4 separate regions of the Homo sapiens genome follow, and regions 1, 3 and 4 are each linked to region 2. Evidence: promoter capture Hi-C in human tissues and cell types (Jung and others, 2019). All regions are on one chromosome and are shown on one strand. The core of a region is centred on a gene start or on the middle of the fragment in contact, and the rest is flanking DNA. Distances in the headings are between cores, read along the strand shown.

What was found. The method cuts DNA at HindIII sites, captures the fragments that hold promoters and counts their contacts. A contact is called where the count stands out against the background at its distance.
Region 1: a fragment that was not itself captured here is called in contact with the fragment with the promoter of COX11 in region 2 in 1 of the 25 tissues and cell types used here (stomach).
Region 3: a contact is called between a fragment that was not itself captured here and the fragment with the promoter of COX11 in region 2, in 1 of the 25 tissues and cell types used here (spleen).
Region 4: a contact is called between a fragment that was not itself captured here and the fragment with the promoter of COX11 in region 2, in 1 of the 25 tissues and cell types used here (pancreas).

What each region holds. Positions count from the first base shown.
Region 1 is chr17:55,029,241-55,033,311 of GRCh38, reverse strand. STXBP4 (syntaxin binding protein 4) reads right to left here. Exons shown (of 18, transcript NM_178509.6): 9 at 2,048-2,144. Among named protein-coding and RNA genes, the nearest start is that of STXBP4, 63 kb to the right of the region's middle. The HindIII fragment of the contact is 6,265 bases long and covers 1-4,071 here.
Region 2 is chr17:54,966,055-54,970,042 of GRCh38, reverse strand. It overlaps COX11 (cytochrome c oxidase copper chaperone COX11), which reads left to right and starts at 1,389. Exons shown (of 4, transcript NM_004375.5): 1 at 1,389-1,762. The coding sequence starts at 1,397. STXBP4 (syntaxin binding protein 4) reads right to left here and starts at 1,278. Exons shown (of 18, transcript NM_178509.6): 1 at 1,228-1,278. RefSeq lists enhancers at 961-1,010, 1,091-1,190, 421-1,369, 1,371-1,450, 1,461-1,520 and 1 more. The HindIII fragment of the contact is 12,807 bases long and covers 1-3,988 here.
Region 3 is chr17:55,000,018-55,003,922 of GRCh38, reverse strand. STXBP4 (syntaxin binding protein 4) reads right to left here. Exons shown (of 18, transcript NM_178509.6): 7 at 3,040-3,115. Among named protein-coding and RNA genes, the nearest start is that of STXBP4, 33 kb to the right of the region's middle. The HindIII fragment of the contact is 4,295 bases long and covers 1-3,840 here.
Region 4 is chr17:54,921,349-54,925,816 of GRCh38, reverse strand. All of the region lies in intron 7 of TOM1L1 (target of myb1 like 1 membrane trafficking protein), which reads right to left. Among named protein-coding and RNA genes, the nearest start is that of TOM1L1, 23 kb to the right of the region's middle. The HindIII fragment of the contact is 5,476 bases long and covers 1-4,468 here.

The DNA.
Region 1 (4,071 bases), core at 255-2,754, 63 kb before region 2:
ACCTCCACTGCCCAGGTTCAAGCGATTCTCTTGCCTCAGCCTCCTGAGTAGCTGGGATTACAGGCGTGCACCACCATGCCCAGCTGATTTTTGTATTTTTAATAGAGACGGGGTTTCACCATATTGGCCAGGCTGGTCTTGAACTCCTCACCTCAGGTGACGCACCCACCTTGGCCTCCTAAAGTGCTGGGATTACAGGTGTGAGTCACTGCACCTGACCTCCTACCTGAAATTCTCTTCTGTGCTTCTTTATTTCTTTTTTTCTGAGTTCCTTTTTTCTGTTTGTCTGATAGTTTTGGGTTCTATATTTTATGTTGGAGGATTTCTCCAAATCTCTGGTGACTCTTGACTATGAGTTCATATTTAAGAATCGGGCACTAAAAAAGTTGGTTGGAAATTTTGTGTGTGTAACTTGCTTTGTCAACTGGCAGCTTTCACTACAGGGCAATCTGGTGGCCAGCTGACATTTCTGTTCAGCTTCTTCAGAGAGAATACCATAGTCTTCTGCCTATAGTAATAAACATGGCAGCAAAGTTCCCTGAGCAATCTGGGTGCATATTACGAGTGATGACTCACTATATACTCCACAAACTCCCTTGCAGCTGGCAACTATAGGTCCACGATCTCTGGTTTAATTTCTCAAAGGAATATACTTCTTTTCTCCTGGAGGTGTACGGTGGGAGATGCCGGACTACTTGAGAAAGAGCAGAGAAGAGCATGCATAATTCTCCTTATAAAGATTTCCAACAATCCTGTTTTAATATCCTGCCTAAAAACTCAGTCTCCAGAAGTACTTGATGTCTTCAATTCTTAAATCATTTTAGGGTCAAATCAACTTGTTCCTCATTGTGATTTTCCTCTATCTTCACACACTTGGGCTTTACCTGCCTCTGCTCACAAATTTACTTTCCTCACCCATTTTTCTGTCCTTAGATATTGTGATTTTACTTGTATGTGTTTTTCTGTTTCTTGTTTTCATTATTATTTTGGGATGATTTTCAAGTGGAGATGGGATGAAAAATATCTTTTTTTCATCACTTAAAAACCAAAAGGTCAATTTTTTTTCAGCAATACAGATGCTTTATAAATAATACAATGTTACATCTATTATACAAGAAAAAAATTACTTAATAGTGACAAGAAGACAAAAAGTGTTATATTCAAACATTACTGGTGGTGGAACGAATATATGTGCAAAATATCTCTGAAAAACAATTTACCAATATGTATCAAAAGTCCAAATCATTTGTGAGGATTTGGCTTAAGAAAGAAAAACAGCTACATTCATAATGTTGATAAATACAGATTTGTAATATCAGCTACTGAGAAACTATCAAAATTCACAATAGTAGAAAGGCTTAATATTATAGTACAATAACTAAGTGGTACATTATGGTATCTTTAATAAGAATAGAGTTGACCCCTGAACAACATAGGCTTGAACTACACAGGTTCACTTATACATCAAGTTTTTTCAACCAAATGCATAAAAAATACAGTATTTGCAGGTTGGAAAAGCCACATATGTGGAGGGTAAACTTTTACTATATGTGGGTTCTGCAAGGCTGTCTATGAGATTGAGTATGGCTGGATTTGGGTATATGCAGGGGTCCGGGAAACAATTCCCCTCCCATACCAAGGGATGACTCTAATTAGGTAGCATCATAAAAATATTTACTATATTATATTAGCTGAAAAAGGATTCGAATTAATCTCACAGTAGTGAAATTAGAACTTCCATATTTTGTACTGTTTCTTTTGTTATTACTAAAGCAATGTTTATGCAATAAATAAAAAATAAAAAGAATATGACAGAATGATGATATTTTAGAGCTGAAAGGTCCTAATGAAATTCTTCTTTCTGCTGACCCTGCCAGGTCAGTAATTCTAGCTGAGTTCTTTGGGTACTGATTAAGGACCTTGAAATGGATGTAGTTTTACTTTTCATTCTCTCCTTCTAAAGAACAAACACTCTTAATGAAAATGTGTCACCATAACTCTTGAATGATGATTCAGTGATAATACAACACAATAAACCTAATATTACCTCCAAAAGACACTGTCCCTTTTGAGTCTGCTTGTACTTGCTGTCTCAGGGCTTGGTGTTGTTCCTTTGTGGGCTGAATACCAAGATAATTTAGAGCCTGGAAGATAAAGGACTCATGAAAAGCAATTTTTCAAATCTCCAAAGAATAAAACTTTTCATTACAAACTTTACAACCCAGGGAAAATAATCAATACCAGAAACAGTCGACCAGGATTAAACACCCAAGGGAAGTCAGCTCTTTATGGATTAAGTGCCTATTGAAGATTAGCTTCCTGATTTTACTACTACCTCATTTTTTCCCCAAGACTAGCACTTTAGCTAATACCAAATTTATGACATTGTCCTAGAACCAAAAATCAAACTATTTCTTAGTTTATATGATTTGGCACATGTAAAATGGCAAAAGAATCCTACTACATCAGATTTACAAGTGACACTCTAAAACATGAATTATATTTGGTTAACATCTTGCCTTTGAGAGCAGAACTGAAGTTGATAGGAATTAGGTTCAACATAAAATCTTCTAATTTTTGGCTTGTTAGGGGCAGGCTTACACAAATAGTAAACTAAAAAGCTTTCTCTGCCACTTACTTCTCTCTTTCATCAGGCTCTTCCCCTTAAGGGAAAAGTTCTTTCTCGTTTTGGTATCCATTAGTGATTAAAAATTCAGAGACTGTTAATTGTATTCCAATGTCCATTCTCTCCTTGCTCCTTAGTAACCGAACCAACCACAATTTTCGGCTGAAAACACTGCCATGCAGCTAAAAGACATTTCCCAGCCCCTTGTACATCTCCATGCGGCCATGTAACTAACTAGGTACTAGCCAATGAGATACAAGGGGAAGTGCCATAGAGTACTATTAGGAAGTCTCCTTTCAAAAGTCGGGGTAAGCACTTCTTGTCCATGCGGATTAGTAAGGGGAAAGAAAGAGGAAGAAAAAAGATGAAAGGAAGGAAGGAAAGAAAGAGGAACTGATGGAATTTGAGCAGTTCTTTTGGTTCATGTGGTACCGCAGTAAAGATGGTGGAACAGAAAGATAATTGGAACATGGTCCCTGATACTCTGAAACCTCCACGGCAGCCCTGGATTACCTTCTTTCAGGCTTCTTTTTGGTGTGAAAGAAATTTCTAAAGGAAACTACTGTTATTTTGAGTTCGCCAGTTATATATAGCAAAATCTAATCTTAACTAACACAAAGGGACTAATTGGATGTCCTATTATTGGATATGGCAAGAGCATATATAGTGTCGATCACATCAAAACTAAAATGTAGGCAAAGTTTAGTATTGGTAATTATCTCTTACATATTTCTTCCTCCTTTAGAATCTCGTTCAATCATTTAGTAATTCATTCATCAAATAATTTATTTGGTGCCTACTATTTGTCAGCCACTAAACTATGCATAGGTGATAGATAAATGAAATATAGTCTCTCACCCCAAAGAGTTTACGGTCTCAAGGGTGAGAACAACTGTAAAGAAATAAGTAAAACACATAATTTAATAGAAGTATGTATAGGGTATATTAATACACAAAGCAACTGGTTAATCTGTAAGTGAGCAATTTGGGAACAATGAAAGAAGAATGGAGAAAGAATATCAGGAAAGATTCTTTCAAAAATGATTCTTAAGCTTAGTCTAGCATCATCTGCTTATCTCGTATAGTAGTCAAGTATTTGCATTGTATAACATGGCATAATGATTTTTAGCTTCTGTATTTTTTTCTCTTCAGTTATAAAAATGTTTCAAATATAAACACAAAAAATAATAATACAAAGAACACCTATATACTCACTATCATCAATTACTCATTGATATGTACTTAAAATTTATGTATATATTTTCAATAAATAAAACTATATATTCGGTTAAAAGTTTTTATAAATTATTCCTCAGCAGGAACTACTATCCTAAGTATTCTTCCTGGTCTTAATTTAATGACATTTACTACATAAGCAAGTATCCCCTAATAATATGTACTCTTATTTTGTGCATTTAAGCTTTTACCTCAAAAGCATAATCTTA
Region 2 (3,988 bases), core at 140-2,639:
AGGTAGCTCCTTATCATCGTTCAGATCTAAACTCAAATGTCACCTCTTCAAAACGTCCTTACTTTACTACCGCTTCTCATGACTGTCAATCATACTATGTTATTACATTGTCTTCACTGCACTGATTGTTATCTGAAATTCCCTTATTTCGGTAACTGTTACTTGATTATTTTCTGAGTCCCTCAGCAGAAAGGACACTCCATCACTGAAGTGATCTCCCGACTTGTTCTGTGCTATAGTGCCAGCAGGTCGATTGGTGTCAGGCCCACAGTTGAGAGGGCAATAAATAAATAAAATGTCGAATGACTAGTTAAAATTTCTCAGGCCTCCAAGTTCCTCATCCACATAGTGGGGATAATTATACCTGCTCTGGCCATTAGAAATGGCCACGTAGCAAGTAGAAATACAGCCTAACTTTTAACTACATTCTTACTATGCCTCAGTCATCATGAAAGACGTTATATGAATATTATTCATTTACTGTTCTGATTTCCATTTTACAAGTAAGGACACCAGGTCTTAGAGGACAAGTAACTGACCTAAGGGCACAGGGCCATGGTGAGGACCCGGGTAAAAATCCAGAACCCCCTAACCTCAGAACCTGAGCTCTTAACTGCTATTTTATAGTTTCTAGAAAGATGCTTCCTTCTAACACAGTAAAATCCGCTATGCTGTCTGCCCCCCTCGAGTTCGTCCTGTGGGACAACTGAAGAAAGCTATTACATCCTCCCACGGGGTTCGTTTCTTTCAGTCTCTCCTTAAATGGCCCTCCTATCCTGGTCACTCTCTCCAGAACAAACTTCAGCGTGACAGCCTCCCTCCTGCTCCAGCTGTGGTGCTTTCCACTGGGCAAGTTGTAAGGGGCATCAGAGCAGGGGAAGCCGACTGCCCACGGGCTGAGAAAATGCAGGTGTCGTGGGTGCCCATGAGGGCTGCGGTTAACACAGCAAGGCTTCCTGAGAGAGGTGATACTTGAACTAAGTCCAGGGCAGTGAGCACAGGAGCCAGCGGCCAAGGGACCCCAGGAGAAAAGACCGCGGGAGAGCGTCGCCGGGGCTGCCGGGTCGAGACAAAGGCTGGTGGAGTTTAAATAAAGATCACAGGCGCAACCCCAAGTGATGGCAAGCTTGCACGCGGACGGGCGAAACGCATTTTCCTAAATGTTAAGAGACGTTCTGGCGAGAAGCGAAGTGGGAGTAACAGTCACAAAGCAAAACGCAAACTTACCCGTAATCTGGCAACCCGGCCTCCGTAGCCCGACTGCAAGCGCTGCCACCTGAGGAGCCTGGTAGCCAAGGCAGCGGCAGGCTCAACCCAGATCTCGCGAGACGGAGCACGCCTCGCGAGATTTGACCTCTCGTCCCTGAGAGGCGGGTGGGTGTTAGTTCAGAGGGTTATGGGAGGGCTCTGGCGTCCTGGATGGAGGTGCGTTCCTTTCTGTGGCTGGCGCTGGATCCACCCTGGGTCTCCAACCAGGGCTGCAGAGAGGGTAGAGCCGTTTCTTAGGCCAGAGTGGAGTGGGACAGGAGGTGCCGAGAGAGGACTGAGGTGGCTTGGGACATGGAAGCGCTGCAGCCTTCGAGCCCGGCATCCAGCATTGCAGCCGCCGCGGCGGCCTAAGAGCTCGAACCCTTTCACACGCGCGCAGGAGGAGGAGCGGCGGCGGCAGAACAAGACGACCCTCACTTACGTGGCCGCTGTCGCCGTGGGCATGCTGGGGGCGTCCTACGCTGCCGTACCCCTTTATCGGCTCTATTGCCAGGTAGGGGCCGGCGCCGCCCGCAGGGTGGCGCAGACGCGAGAGGTGGGGGTGCAAGACAAATCCCGGGACAAGCCCTCGCTCTGCGGGTCGTAGGTGGAAGAGGTTTCCGATATTATCTACCTAAGAGGAGAGAGGTTCAAAACAGTCACTTAACACCCAAAGTCACCAAAGAAATTGGTGACAAAACTGCAAGTAGCATCCAGTTCTTAGTGATTGTGCTTATACCATGCTGCAGAGTGAAACCCCTGATCTATGAACTGCACCTCGCCAAAAAAAAAAAAAAAGGTCCGCAGCCTCTAACCGGGTATCTAGCAGTCTGCCTTACCCTCCTGCGCACACACGCTTTTAAAATGTATTATTCATACATTCACTCTGCAAACCACATGTGGTTTATGTGCCAAGGGTAACTCTGGAAATTGGACTACTCGTGTTTCTTGGGCTTAAACTGGGATTAGCAGTTCCTCCGTACAAAGAGGCATGAATTAGGCCTTTGAGGCTCTCTCGCCCCACCCCTGTTAATATATAACTGTAATGTACTTAACCTGGAAACTGTTAAGTACATTGCAACGGTTCTGGGAGTGTGGCGCCCAGGACCGGCAGCATCAGCATCACCCGGGAACCTGTTAAAAGTGCAAATTCTAGGGCCCGACTCCAGGACTGAGTCAGAAACACGGGGTGGGGGGGTGGGGCGGGGAGAAGAAGGGGAGTGGGACCAGCACTCTATATTTTAGTTAAGTCCTGTAGTTGATTTTGAGGGCAAGTTTTGAGAACCACAGGCAAAGACAAGTTTCACGTATTTTAGAGATTTCTCCTTTGTTCTTAGCTAATAATTTGCAGCTTTGGCTGGCCATTAGGATCACCTATGGAGCTTAACGTTAAATACACGTTCCAGGGATCCCCTACCCCAGAGATTCTGGTTAGGAAGTCTAGGGTAGGGACAGGAATTTCGGTTTAAAAATCATGCCACAAGTGATTCAGTAAGTGTTTAAGATAGTGGCTCCCAAAATTCATTGTACAGCAACATTGGGAATCACCTGGACAGCTTCTAAAAATCCACACACATTACCCATTTTATCACAAGGCCACAGTGGGAACCAGGCATCAGTAATTGTCAAGTATGTTTTAGGTGATTCCAGCGTGCAGGAAAGTTTGGGAATTGTTTTTTTAACACCATGACTGGTATTCTTAGCTGGAGTTCACTCTTTCCGTGTGTGTGTGTGTGTGTGTGTGTGTGTGTGCGCGCGCGCGCACGTTTATTTATTTAAATTTGTAGAGACGAGGTCTCCCTATGTTGCTCAGGCTGGTCTCAACTCCTGGGCTCAAGTGACCCTCCTGCCTTGGCCTCCCAAAGTGCTGGGATTACAGGCGTGAGCCACCATGCCCGTGGAAATCAATTTACCTTTCTTTTAGATGATGAAGCAGAAGACAAAAGGACTTTTCTTTTCTGGCATAGTCTCCTAATGCCAGCATTTATGTGGGAATGTGCAATAGTTGATTTTGAGGATGAGTATAGAATGTGAATTACTTTTCATCAGAGACCAAGCCCAAGCATGAATTCTAAAACTACCAGTTGGTTAAATCATAAGCAGAACTGAATCCAAATCAGCAAATCTAGATCCTTCTCAGACCGCCAGGAGATTTTTGCCCCTCAGGGAACATTTAGCGATGTGTGAAGACATTTTTGGTTGTCACAACATGGAGGTGGGGGTATAGGGTGCTACTGGCATCTAATAGGTAGAGGCTAGGAATGCTACTAAATAACCAACAAAGCACTGCCTCACCCCCAAACAACAAAAAATTATTCAGCCCAAAATGTCCATAGTTCTAAGATTGAGAAACCCTGCCCCAAACTGAAATAACTGATAATATTGCGTGTGAAATGTGCCCACATGCAATCATAGATCAGGAAGCCAAATGTAATTTGTAATCTATCAGGTTCTTAGAGCTAGTAGCACAACTAGAATAGAGACCAGGACATCTTTTTAGTGCTGTTTTCTAGTCTTTTTGTCTATTTTACTTTAGGCATTGAACTTAGAAATTTGAACCCATATTCAAAGACTATATTGGAATCTTTATTGAGGGAGGACACTTAAAAGTATTTTTATTTAAGTGACTTAAATTTTTTAGTAAAAGAAGTTACATCTTAAACACAGCACTCAGGCAGAAGGATAAACAAGGATAAAGGCTTGCCCTCTGATGCATCTTTTAGGGATATAATGTAATTCA
Region 3 (3,905 bases), core at 444-2,943, 34 kb before region 2:
TGGGATTACAGATGTGAGCCACCGCACCTGGCTGCAACAATTGTTTATTGCTATCCTTAGAAATGTCTTTAGTATATTGTTAGCTCACTTACAAACTCATGTGTTATTCAACTTATATATAGCACTAGTAAACAACTCTGGATTTTGAAATAAATTTCTGTATAATAGCATCATTTTTAAAACATTTAAATATTATGTGGATTTTAAAAATTCTAACCTATTTTACACTTTGGGATGATTTTTAGATAAGAACAGAAATAGAACTATCTAATTACATTTACTTTTGTTGAGGTTAACATTAAAATTTGTTTATATTTTTTGTATTAGCATCAGGTAACTGAAGAAATCTAGAAGTGATGGTTAATTTCTGATTTGTAACAATCTATAATTAGGTACTTATAATATGCAAATCACAATGTATATAAGTTATCTAGAGATAATTTAGAGGTGATTTTGCCTTTTTTCCACTCCCCAGAAATATCTTGCCTACTACATTTATGTAGAAGAAAATGAGACTGAGTTGATGCACTTTCTACTCTAGAAAAATGTTCCGTCTTAATTGTATTTTAATATTTACCTATAACTTACTTAAATATATTTTTCACTAACCTATTTTTCTATTACAAAATCTACCACTATTCTTATAGCGACTGGTATAAATTTACCTGAGTTTATTCATTGTTAACAAGATCTCTGCTCTAATCACACCTGACTCTTAGAATCATCTGACATCTAGCTCATCCTTAGTTCTATGCTTTTATTTGTGGTGCTTCCTTAACTTGAAACGATCTCCTGTGTTCAGTTATCAATTGATGTTTACCACTTTTTTCAAGATTTGGATAATGTCTGACTTTTGCCAAGAAATTTTTCTTAATTTCTGCATATTGTGACAGATTCCTTATTATATACTAGTTTTTGGGGTCAAGGGGAGGACATAAAATTGAATCAAGAATTGGAAGCTTTCCTTCTGCTCTATAAACATGACCTAGAATATTATCTGAGCTACACTCTAAGCTATAGGTTCCATATTATTAGTAACAGGAAAATTTAGTAAGCATATACTATGCACTAATTACAATATAAGTGCTTGACATGCAAGATCTTGTTTAATCCTCATAACAACTCCTTGTAACTTGTAACTATTTCAAGGTTACAGAGCTAATAAGATGAAAGCAAGAACCTGAACACTGAGTCTGTATTCAGAGCCTGGTGGTAACCACTGTGCCTTCCTTATACCATACTCATAGCACTCACTACTTCCTTCCTTAGGCCTCTTTGTTCATGTCTTTACATAATTTGTGTAAATGTGTTATTCATCCACAAGACAGAATGCTTTTTAGAGTAACAAAACCACCCATATCCTGCTCTGATTAACACAAAAAACTGCAAATAGTAGCTGCTTGATAAAATAAACATACACACACATCTATAAACAAATACATGCATATAAATTAGAATGTTTCCTAATTTCAATAATTATAATTTTTAGCCCCATGTTTTATTTCACAATATACTATTAAGTATCTCACAGAAAATATCCTAATTTCTTCATAATTCCCGTTGTACTGTATTCTACACATATAACATAGTAAAACCTTACTGAATAAAAGGTTAAAATAGGCATTGAATAGTTCAATTACTTTAAAAGTTAAAAACATGTTATATAATTATTAATATTTTATAATATCAAGGAATAAAGGGTTCTGACTTCCATCATCTAGCAATTTTGATGCTCATCTCATGACTGTTTCATTTGTCTTTTTCTTCTCATAAGGGTTCCCAGTTTAAAATAAATACAGTACATGCAGAGACTGGAAATTAATTATGTAAGAGGAATAATGCTATAAAGTTGGTCAATAAATCTAAGTAAAAGGTAATATAACTCATGGCTTAAGATTGCTATTAACCCACTGGTAAATACCACCCCAAATCGGAGGAAACTACTGTGGAATATAGTATAAACTCCTGTAAAGATTGGTAGCTATTGAGCCAGGCACGAGCGGTGGCTCACGCCTGTCATCCCAGCACTTTGGGAGGCCAAGGCAGGCAGATCACGAGGTCAGGAGATCGAGACCATCCTGGCTAACATGGTGAAACGCCATCTCTACTAAAAGTACAAAAAATTAGCCGGGCATGGTGGCAGGCGCCTGTAATCCCAGCTACTTGGGAGGCTGAGGCAGGAGAATGGCGTGAACCCAGGAGGCGGAACTTCGACAGAGCAAGAATCCATCTCAAAAAAAAGATTGGTAGCTATTTAATTTAAATTAATGCTTCCTTATTTTTCAGTTCTTATATAAATAATGCTATTAAAACAAAATTAAAATATACAGGTAAAAATTTACCTTATAATTAGGCATATATAATTAGTTTTTCAGTTATGTTTAGTCTTTTTATCATTGTTGTGTTTAACTTTTGGAGATAATTTCAGGGGGCTTTTTTTCTTCGTATTGATCCTGTAAGCACCTTATAGCCACATAAAAATCTTTATTTTACATTTGGCTTAGATAATTAACGCTTTATTGTTTTAAAAAGTCAGTAAATCATTTTATGGTAATTAAGAATCAATAATAATGAATTAACAATACTGACACCCTTTATAATTGATATCCATATGATTTCTTCCAAAAAAACAAGATACATTTCTTTTCTTAAGGTATGCTCCCTTCTATAATGTGTTTTCCGAAAGGTGTATTTAATATGCCTCATCAGTATTGCACTAAAAGGACATGGCAACCTAATCTTGATCTTTATAGAAGACTTTCCATTATTTGATTTAAACAATTCATTAATTATTACAGCTTCATAAACACTGTTATGACAATGCATCTTTTGAAACTTCAACTCTTTGTTCAGGGAAATATCTAATAAAAGTCATACTTTAACAGGGCCCAACGGAAAGACATTATTTTTACTTTTTCGTTCACTGAAGGAACAAAGACATAATTCACCCTTCTTCAAAGTCTTAAGTCACATTACACACTCCTCATTGAGAGAGAATTGAAATAAAAAACAGGAAATAGAAATTAAATGTGTATTTACCTGTATTAGACAAACCCACAGTACTGTTTTCTGAAGTAATTGGAATCTGTACTGTTTTGTTGTATCCAGTTTTTATCTGTGAAAGAAAATGAGGAACATGCAATGTCATTTACTAAAGTAGGTCACTTGAAGCCCATGTTAACATAAAAAGAATGGTTAAAGAGATTAAAGTAATTATCCCTCAAATATGAAACCTCTAAAATTTTGGTATATGCATCTTCAAACAAAGCAATTCAGAATTAAAGGTAACAATTGCTTTCAGCTCTACCACATCCAAGGATAACAAAATATAAGGCCACTCATCTTGTCTTTTAAAAGTATTATAGCTCCAAGTGACAAAGTATAAGGGGCTGACAGAAAATCTTATACTCTGTCTCTGTTCAGCATGTACCAGAGACTGAAGTTACCTTTGATGAATTTTATTCTACTGACTAAAAGCTTAAGTTTCCTATTTTACAGCTAACACAGATATAAATAATACACACTTTATTCTGTAACTGTAATTTGTTCAGATAATATAGCAGTTAGTAATTGAGTATGTTAATTCTGATATAGAAATTCCCCATTTTGTGTGATTCTACTTGGGTGAACTATAGCATGCACACATGAAGGAGCAATACCTTCTTAGATTGGATGCCTGGGATTAGCCTCACTGTGTGGGAAAGAAGCTAAGGAACAAAAAGGAAGATGGCCTCACTTCAGTCAAGCAGAGAACAGAAATGGCAAATAACTAAACCAACTGAAACCAAATATGACATTCTTAACATAGTTTTGAGTGATATCTAGGCATATCTTTGTGGAACCATTTTGTCATGCTGGTATTTTCTAACCAATCATGCTCCTGGACACAGGACATGCTGACTTAA
Region 4 (4,468 bases), core at 960-3,459, 45 kb after region 2:
TTCTCATGCCTCAACCTCCTGAGTGACTGCGACTATAGGAGCGTGCCACCACGCCCAGCTGATATTTGTATTTTTAGTAGAGACGGGGTTTCACCATGTTGGCCAGGCTGGTCTCGAACTCCTGACCTCAGGTGATCTGCCCACCTTGGCCTCCCAAAGTGCTGAGATTACAGGCGTGCTCCATCGCATCTGGCCTCAGGATGGTTTTATAATAAACTGATACTATAAGACTGTGGTCACTGGTGAAGTATATGTGCAAGAGCAGCCAAGAAATTTTTGAGTGGAGGCTCTTCCTTTCTGCTGGAGAACTTTCCTTGGCCCTCCAGATCCACTGTCCATACTTTCTGCCTTAACTCTGTGCCCTGGGGCCTGGCTTGTAGGGATCACATCGCCAGATCCCCTGTCTTCTTGCTTCTGTGTTCAGCCAACAGGCATGCTGGCTGGCAGGAAACAGGAGGAAGGAAGGAGAATGAGGTCTGGATATTTATTCTTTCCACTCCTTCCACCAAAGGCACCCCTGCTTTCAAGTCTGCCCTCCCCCACATTATTCTTTCCTCTAGGTTCTGGCAAAAGTGCCCTCTTCTTGTCTATGTAATTCTAGGGATATTAGTTAATAATCCAGGGTAGCGATCAAGCCCTTGTAGTTTCCCTGAACTTTATAACATCTTACTAAATAAACAGTATTTTGATTAAGCTTTCTTCAAATTACCCAAATGAAGTATGTCATCTCTTTGCTAATATACCCTAGAAAGCATAAAAACACATCTTTAGAGTAATGAAAATAGTATGATGCCAAGTTAGGCACAAATAGGTCAAGGGACGAGAATAGCCTCGAGAATAGCCTCTAGAAGACAACCCTGAATTAGAATATACCGTATGTGATAAAGGGGCATTTAAAACCATTGGAGAAGGCGTGAATTGTTAATGGATGTTATTTGGACAACCAGCCATCAAATTGAAAAAATAAATGAAGGTAAAGTCCCCATCTCATACCAAGAATACAGATTTGAATTTTAAGTCACATAAAATCCAGGGGAAGAAAGCTATTGATTCATTAAGCCTGTTTACTGAATGATTACATCATGTTAGGCACTAATCTGGGAGCCAGAACCTGGTAATGAACAAGACAAGCCTTTTGGCATTTCCATTCTAGTAGGCAAAGACAGCTGACGACCATGCAAGAAAAGCGTCAGACACTGTGAGTGCCAGGTGAATAAATGGTGATGTGATAGGACGGTGGCTAATTTTAGACTGGGGAGTCACAGAAGACTTCTCAGGAGAGTAACATGCTAAGATCAGAATGATAAGAAAGAGTTCGAGATCAGCCTGGACAACATAGTGAAACCCCATCTCTACCAAAAATACAAAAAATAGCTGGGCATGGTGGCGGGCACCTGTAGTCCCAGCTACTCGGGAGGCTGAGGCAGGAGAATCACTTGAACATGGGAGGCGGAGGTTGCAGTGAGCAGAGATCGTGCCACTGCACTCCAGCCTGAGTGACAGAGTCAGACTCTATCTCAAAAAAAAAAAAAAGAAAAAAGAAAAGAAAAGAAAAAGAAAAAGCTGGCCATTTGAAGACAGGGAAGCATAAGAGTCAGGGATGAAACAACTCCCCAGCAAGAATGAACTCAGTGCACTCAAGGAATAGGAAGGAGGTTAGCAAGCACGTGCCACGGAAACAGAAGTAGGCTAAAGACGACCGAGAAGGGCTCTGTGGCCAGACTAGAGAGGTCTAGTTTTACTCCAACTATAATGGGAAGCCAATGGAGGGTTTCCAGCAAGGAACAACACGATCTGGTTTACATTTTATTTTATTTATTTTATTTTATTTTTTGACAAGTAGTATCGCCAGGCTGGAGTACGGTGGTGCAATCTTAGCTCACTGCAACCTCCACCTCCCAGGTTCAAGCTCCCAGGCAGCTCACTGCCTCAACCTCCTGAGTAGCTGGGATTACAGGCACCTGCCACCATGCCTGGCTAATTACCTTTTAAAAAGCTATAATACAACTTTGGGAGGCCAAGGCAGGTAGATCACCTGAGGTCAGAAGTTTGAGACCAGCCTGGCCAACATGGTGAAACCCTGTATCTACTAAAAATACAAAAATTAGCCAGGCATGGTGGCAGGCACCTATAGTCTCAGCTACTCCGGAGGCTGAGACAGGAGAATTGCTCAAATCCAGGAGGCAGAGGTTGCAGTGAGCCGAGATCGCGCCACTGCACTCCAGCCTGGGTGACAGAGCAAGACTCCATCTCAAAAAAATAAATAAATAAAATAATTAATTTAAAAAATAAAAAACTATAATACAGACACTCAAATTCATTAGTCATTAGGAAAATGCAAATACAAATCAAAATCAAAACCATAATGAGATACCACTTCACACCTACCAGCGGGCCATTAAAAAAAACACAATGGAAAATAACAAGTATTCATTGTGGAGAATCTGGAATCCTAGTAGTACTGCATACCGCTAACAGAATATACAATGGTGCAGCCATTGTGCAAAACATTTTGACAATTCCTCAAAAAGTTAAAGTTACTATACGACCCAGCAATTCTACTCTTAGGTTGATACTCAAAAGAAGTGAACACAGGTATTCAAAGAAAAACCTGTATGTGAATGTTCATAGCAGCATTAGTCACAATAGCCAAAGGTGGAAACAACCTAAATGTCTATTAATGAACTGATATATAAAACGTGGGATATACAATGAAATATTAGGCCATTAAAGTAATAAAATTCTGATACATGCTACAACATGGATGAACCTCAAAAACACTAAGTGAAAGATGCTAAACACAAAAAGTCATATATTATGTGATTCCACCTATATGAAATGTCCAGAACAGGTAAATCCACAGACACAGAACCAGATTGGTGGTTATCTGGAACTGATGAAAGGCAGAAAGGAGAGGCTGCTTAATGAGCATGGGGTTTCCTTTTGGGGTAATGAAAATGTATTGGAATTAAATAGAGGAAATACTGTTGAACCTTGAACAACATGGGTTTGAACTGCATGGCTCCACTGAGAGGTGGATTGTTTTCTGACTCTGCCACCCAAGACAGAAAGATCAATTTCTCTTCTTCTTCCTTCTCAGCCCATTCAGCAAAAAGATAAAGATCAAGACCTTTATGACCCACGTCCACTTAATGAATAGTAAATATATGTTCTCTTCCTTATAATTTTCTTAAAGAAATTTTTCTTTTTTAATTTTTAAACTGAGACAGGGTCTCACTCTGTTGCCCAACAATGGTGCAATCACGGTTTACTGCAGCCTCGACCTCCCAGGTTCAAGCGATCCTCCCACCTCAGCCTCCCCAGTAGCTGGGACCACAGGCATGTACCACCATGCCTGGCTAATTTATTTTTTGTAGCAACAGAGTCTCACTATGTTGCCCAGGCTGGTCTCAAACTTCTGGATGCAAGCAATCCTCCTGCCTCAGCTTCCCAGAGTGCTAGGATTACAGGTGTAAGCCACTGTGCCTAGCCTTCCTTACAATTTTCTTTTTTTGTTTATTTTTTTGAGACAGCCTCGCTCTGTTGCCCAGGCTGGAGTGCAGTGGCTTGATCTCGGCTCACTGCAAGCTCCGCCTCCTGGGTTCACACCATTCTACTGCCTCAGCCTCCCAAGTAGTTGGGACTACAGGCGCCCACCACCATACCTGGCTAATTTTTTGTATTTTTTAGTAGAGATGGGGTTTCACTGTATTAGCCAGGATGGTCTCCACCTCCTGACCTCATGATCCGCCTGCCTCGGCCTCCCAAAGTGCTGGGATTACAGGCATAAGCCACTGTGCCCAGCCTACAATTTTCTTAATAACATTTTCTTTTCTCTAGCTTACTTTAAGAATACAGCACATAACATATATAACATACATAATATGTGTGAATCGACTGTTTATGTTATTGATAGGGTTTCTGGTCAACAGTAGGCTATTAGTAGCTAAGTTTTGGGAAAATCAAAAGTTATACATGAATTTTCAACTACACTGTGGGGTCAGTGCTCATAACTGCTATGTGTTGTTCAAGGGTTAACTGTAGTTACAATGAATGTATATTTATTTTATTTTATTTTTATTTTTTGAGATGGAGTCTCCCTCTGTTACCGAGGCTGGAGTGCAGTGGCACAATCTCTGCTCACTGCAACCTCCGGGTTCAAGCCATTCTCGTGCCTCAGTCTCCTGAGTAGCTGGGATTATAGGCGCCCACCACCATGTCCGGTTAATTTTGTATTTTTAGTAGAGACAAAGTTTCACATGTTGGCCAGGCTGGTCTCGAGCTCCTGACCTCAAGTGATCCACCCGCCTTGGCCTCTCAAAGTGCTGGGATTACAGATGTGAGCCACCACGCCGGGCCCTGAATGTATATAAATGCCACTTAATTGTACCCTTTAAAATGGTTAATTTTATGTGATAATTTAAAATAATGGTTAATTTTTTGCCTCAATTTAAAAAATGCTATATAG